Linked DNA regions of Homo sapiens: region 2 is linked to region 1. Evidence: promoter capture Hi-C in human tissues and cell types (Jung and others, 2019). All regions are on one chromosome and are shown on one strand. Each heading gives the region's core, a stretch centred on a gene start or on the middle of the fragment in contact. The rest is flanking DNA. Distances are from core to core; before and after follow the strand shown.

Region 1 (3,007 bases), core at 207-2,706:
TGAGCCCAGAAGTTTGAGGCTGCACTGAGCAAGGATTCCACCACTACACTCCAGCATGGGCAAAAGACCGAGAGACCCCCATCCATCTCTAAAAAGAAAATAAATAAATAAATAAATGGATGGCTACTTCCATGTACTGATAGCATGTGCACATCACTACATTTTTCTGTTTATATATAAATTTCCCCCACAAACCTGGCTACTCCTTGAGGTCTGAGCCTGTCATCTGCCTGAACCCCTCACTCCTAGAGTACCTGTCCCATACATACATACATACATACATACATACATACATACATACAATGTACACAATACACACACCACACACACACAGCTTATGGGGGAGAGATCTTGACAGGTTGAGTTTGGCCAGCTGGAAGGACATTTGAGGAAGTCGCTGCCTCTGTCACCTTCTTCCTTTACCTGTTGGAAAACCTGAAAAGAATCCTCTTGGAGAATATCAAAGCACTTTACTATACTCGGCAAAAAATCCCAGTGGACCAGATAGAATCATACTGAGATTGCTCCTGTATTAAAGATAAGGAAACAGATCTTGGAAAAGTAACAGGCCTGCAGCCCTGAGTATGAACGATCTGAAGGGGAAGAGTTAATTAACAGTAGCCTCATCCAGTGAAGGTTCAGATCTGTGTCTTACTTTAACAGAGTTCTGGGGCAACAGAATAACATGTCAGACTTTCTCAGACCCAAAGCAGGTGTCTAAGTAAGAGAATTATCCCCACTTCTCCCCACTTCTGAGAACTATCCCTGCACCTGCATAAGAAAGCCGGAGCAGCTGGAAAAAGCACATAGGTGAGCAAACAAAAAGATGGCAATTAAAACTTGCAGATCACCTAGTATGCGCTGTGCGCCTTCAAAGCTTTATCTCAATTCTTGCTACAGTTCTAATGTAGGACCTCATTTTATTGCTGAGGAAACAGGTTCAGAGAAACTGGGAAGTTAGCAAGAGATCATACAGAGAAAAAGAAGAGCTCAAATCCGAAACCAAGTCTCGTCCCCTCCAGTGCTCTGCGCTCTCCACTCAACCCCAGGGGCTTACATTTCAGTAGTAAAGAATCGAGGCCATCTCCTCCGGGAGAAAGATAGGCCAGCAGCAAGAGAAACTCACCTTGGCACAAGCACAGAGCGTGAATAGGGTACTGTGGCCTGGGCTCAGTTCTGCACCCCGCCAGAGATCCAACGATCCTCAGCTTAAGTCTGGCGGTGAGGGGGAAGTTCCACCCGGAGGGAGGGGCAGGGGCCGGGCATAAAGGATCACGCGCAGGGTGGACCGCCTTCGCCGCCTCCCGAGGAAGGACCTGAAGGGGATGGAAAACAGAGCTGGGAGGTAGTACCGTCTCCACCTCTGGATCCTCGAGGTCGAACTGGCCGGAACTTGGTCACTCACTCCGCAGCGCGGGTTTGGAGAACTCCTGGGCACAATGAGGCAGGTGGCGCTGGCCACGTGGGCGGTGCAAGGGGCGGGGCCAGCCTCGCCTTTTGCTGGCCCACATTGCACCGCGCGCCTAGGCGCCGCCGCAGGCGCTTTTCCGGGGGAAGTAAGGTAGCAGATGCCACGTTGCAGGTTCTTCTGGTGTCGGCCCTCCGGATTCACAATGCCATCCGTGGCTCCATACTCTCCCTAAAGTCAGGTTGGCTGGATTCCCAAAGTTCACCTAAGTTGGCCCCGTTACATTTAGTTCAAGCAAACTGAGGCCCAGAGAGCAGCTGCAACACCAAGATTGGCCAGAATACAGAAGACCTCGCGTCTGCAGATCCAGGCGCTGGAAAGTGCCTGGTCCCCCTGTCTGGACCATAGACCCCGCCCAGCACGTTATGTGCCAGGCACTGTGCTTAACACTTAATAAACATGGTTTTATTGAATCTTCATAATAATCCTGGAAAAGGAATATTCCTTTTTTTTTTTTTTTTTTGAGACGGAATCTCGCTCTCGCCCAGGCTGGAGTGCAGTGGCGCGATCTTGGCTCACTGCAACCTCCGCCTCCCTGGTTCAAGCAATTCTCTGCCTCAGCCTCCCGAGTAGCTGGGATTACAGGCGCCCGATACCACGCCTGGCTAATTTTTTTGTATTTTTTAGTAGAGACGGGGTTTCGCCATCTTGGCCAGGCTGGTCTTGAACTCCTGACCTCGTGATCCACCCGCCCTGGACTCCCAAAGTGCTGGGATTACAGGAGTGAGCCACTGCGCCTGGCCGAAAAGGAATATTCTTTTATTTCGTACAAGCCTTTTTAAAAATCGTAGTATAGCATATATACAGAAAATACACCAGTCTTTTTTTTTTTCTTTTTCTTTTTTTCCTATTCTACATCCAGGAAGAAAGAAAATGTATAAATCTTAAATGTATACAGTTCTTTTTTTTAAATTATTTTTTGCAATGTAACTGCCATCCAGAGGAAGATATTACCAGCACACCATAAGCCTGTGAGGAAAGTATTCATAATCCATTTTACAGATTGGACAGACTCAGCAAGGTTAAGGCTATTTATAATTTTCCCAAAGTCACACAGGTATTAATTAAATGACACATCTGCGATTTGAAATAGTCTGTGCTGTTTGAGTGGAGAGGTGTCTTGCATGTATGTGTTTTCCTTGGCAGGGATGGGCAAGACACAGGGTTATCTCGGTTTGGCTCTGCTTTTCCCCACACCTTTACTCCCTGAGAGCAACTCTTCCCATTTCCCCACCCCCGTTATCCCCCACTGTCTCCCCAACATAAGTGATGTCCTGGTGGACCAAATGTCTAATGTATCAGGCCATCCTCATAAAAACAATCAGACTTGGCCGGGTGCGGTGGCTCACGCCTGTAATTCCAGCACTCTGGGAGGCCGAGGCAGGCGGATCACCTGAGGTCAGGAGTTAGAGACCAGCCTGACCAACATGGAGAATCCCCGTCTCTATTAAAAATACAAAATTAGCCGGGCGTGGTGGCACATGCCTGTAATCCCAGCTACTCGGGAGGCTGAGGCAGGAGAATTGCTTGAACCTGGGA
Region 2 (3,007 bases), core at 375-2,874, 1.7 Mb after region 1:
TCCTAGAAGCCTGTTCTATTGCCTGCAACAAGAACACCTGCCCAGATGATAGAAACACTCTACGGCCCAGTGGACTGCGGCTGGGGAACCCAGCACTGACATCTCTTGGACTTTTGGAAAAAGGCTTCCAAAAGGTAGCCCACTTTATCCACAGAGGGATAGAGCTAACCCTGCAGATCCAGAGCAACGCTGGCATCAGAGCCACCCTGAAAGAGTTCAAGGAGAGACTAGCAGGGCATAAATACCAGGGGTGTGTGCAGGCTCTCCAGGAGGAGGTTGAGAGCTTCACTCTCTTCCCTCTGCCTGGCCTGCCTGACTTCTAAAGGAGCCGGCCCACCCTGGATGCACCTGGTGCCACAGAGGAAGCTACCTGCTGGAGGATCCCCTTGAGAGATGTACAAGCTGCCCCACAAGGGACCCACTGACACTTGTTTCCTTTGAGGGGTTTTCTTTTGGACTTTTTTCATGTTTTCTTCACAAATCAAAATTTGTTTAAGTTTCATTGTTATTAATTCTGGGACAGGTTATTACAGGTTTTTAATTTGAACCTGGCTTTCTCACAGCTGGATATAATTATTCTAGAAAAATAAAAATACTGTGTAGCCACTTGGCCATAATCATTTAGACCATGGGGTAGGGCAGAGCTATTAGAAAGATTCTAGTGTTTTACTCTCCCTAGGCTTTCCTTTGCCTTGCTGCAGCAGAGAGGAAATGCTCCTGTCCACAGCTTGTACACACTGCCACTCTTACTATCTTGTTACCCAGCAGCATGCCAAAGGGGAGCTGAATTCGCCTCTGAAGCTTCTGCTGTGTGCTGTAAATCAGAAGTGTACATTAGCCAAGTGTACACAAGGTGCACTCAGTATGGTGGGAGGGTTTTGCTGTCAGTAGTTCAAAGTATGGTGTAGAAAGGGTCTCCTCCCTCCATCCTGGGAAATCCCAGTCCCATACTGGTGTGAGAATCAACCAGGCTTTCCTGCTCCACCTGAGATAACCAACTCCCTCCCATAATCAGGAAACCAAATGTCACCTTCCCAAAGAAACTTTATTTTCACATAGCTGAAGTGCAAAACATATACGACCATTTTTAATAAGCACAATCAAATTTTTAACCACTGAATGTCTATAAGAATTATAGCTTTAAAAATACAATTTTTATATTTCAAAAATATTTGAACTCAAACTAATTTCTTAAAAAGTTAAAAAAGGTAAGATTTAATAGTTTTTGTAGATCATCTCAAAATTAACACATCAAAAAGAGCTTTATCAAGTCCTTTTCTGTCAAAATATTGATGCTGCAGAAATCAAAACCTTGAATTTACTTAAGTATTTTGTGATCAAAATACCAAGAAATACTAGCTACCCATATGAAAAAAAAAAAAGAACCCTAGATCTCAACCTCATTCCTAACACACAAAACCAAAAATAGATGAATTAATAATTTAAATATAAATAACAAAACTGTAAAACAGAAGAAAACAAAGGATGGCACCATCATCAACTACTATGTGGGTACATAAATCCCAAAACTGCTATGAAGGGCAATTTGCCAATAACTCTCAAAATGTTCAAGAAGGCAGAAGAAAACACAAACATAATAAGAAATGAAACAGAAGATATAAGAAGACCTAAATGGAACCTACAGAGATTAAAAACACAGTATTTGACATAATAATATACATGGTGGGATTAACAAGTGATTAAATGCTACAAAAGAAAAAGCTATAAATGTGAAGACATAGCAATATAAACTATCCAAAATGAAGCAGAGAGAGAAAGAAGATTGAAAAACAAAAACCCAGAGCATCAGTGACCTGTGGGACAAATAATATAGCATCCATGTAATTTGAATCCTGGGAAAGGAGATGAGGCAGAAAAAATATTTGAGAAAATATGTAAACAAGGTCCAAATGTGATTACAAAGAATAAAACAAAACAAACAAACAAGAAAACTATGAACCTACAGATCTGAGGAGTTAAATAAACTCCAAGCCAAATAAATATAAAGAAAACCACAGCCAGGCACGGTGGCTCACACCTGTAATCCTAGCACTTTGGGAGGCCGAGGCATGTGGATCACCTGAGGTCAGGAGTTTGAGACCAGCCTGGCTAACATGGTGAAACCCCGTCTCTACTAAAAATACAAAATTAGCCAGGTGTGGTGGCGCATGCTTGTAATCCCAGCTACTCGGGAGGCTGAGGTAGGAGAATTGCTTGAACCCAGGAGGCGGAGGTTGCAGTGAACCAAGATCGCGCCATTGCACTCCAGCCTGGGCAACAAGAGCAAAACTCCATCCCTACGCCAAAAAAAAAAAAAAAAAAAAAAGAAAACCACAACAAGGGACACCATAATAAAATTGCTGGAAACCACTGGTAAAGAGAAAAATCTCAACAGGCAGCCAGAAGAAAATGAAATACTACATACAAAGGAATATAGGTAAGAATGACAGAAGACGTTTTGTCAGGAATGAAGCAAGTAAATAGAGTTACATATTTAAGGTAGTGGGGGAGGGGTGGTGGAAGTGAGAACAGGGTACTGTCAACCTAGAAGTGTATACCTAGCCAAAACATTTTTAAAAATCTTTCAAAATTGAAGGTAAAATAAAGACTTGTTCAGACAATCCAACACTGAAAGACTTCGCAGTCATCGGACCTGCCCCACAAGAAATGTTAAATGAAGTTCTTCAGGCAGAAGAAAGAGGATACCATATGGAAATACGTATTTACACAAAGGAAGAAAGACCAACAGTAAAGAAAACTTTGTGAGTAAATATAAAAGAATTTTCCCTCTCATTAAAAAAACTTTTAAAATGTTTGAATTGTAGTAAAATACACTAACATAAAATGTACCATCCTAACCATTTTTAAGTGTACAATTCAGTAGTATTAGTTATTTTCACACTGTTGTGTAACCAATATCCAGAGCTGTTTTTCATCTTGCAAAACTGAAACTCTATATGCATTAAACAATAACTCTCCATTCCTCCCTCCTCCCAGCACATGGAAA

Evidence for each region. The method cuts DNA at HindIII sites, captures the fragments that hold promoters and counts their contacts. A contact is called where the count stands out against the background at its distance.
Region 2: a fragment that was not itself captured here is called in contact with the fragment with the promoter of AKR1A1 in region 1 in 1 of the 25 tissues and cell types used here (pancreas).

What each region holds. Positions count from the first base shown.
Region 1 is chr1:45,549,275-45,552,281 of GRCh38, reverse strand. It overlaps AKR1A1 (aldo-keto reductase family 1 member A1), which reads right to left and starts at 1,456. Exons shown (of 9, transcript NM_153326.3): 1 at 1,127-1,456. RefSeq lists enhancers at 984-1,203, 1,434-1,663, 1,714-1,773. The HindIII fragment of the contact is 19,939 bases long and covers 1-3,007 here.
Region 2 is chr1:43,847,614-43,850,620 of GRCh38, reverse strand. The region is part of intron 5 of ST3GAL3 (ST3 beta-galactoside alpha-2,3-sialyltransferase 3); the gene reads right to left. It also overlaps the pseudogene SHMT1P1. Among named protein-coding and RNA genes, the nearest start is that of MIR6079, 10 kb to the right of the region's middle. The HindIII fragment of the contact is 5,766 bases long and covers 1-3,007 here.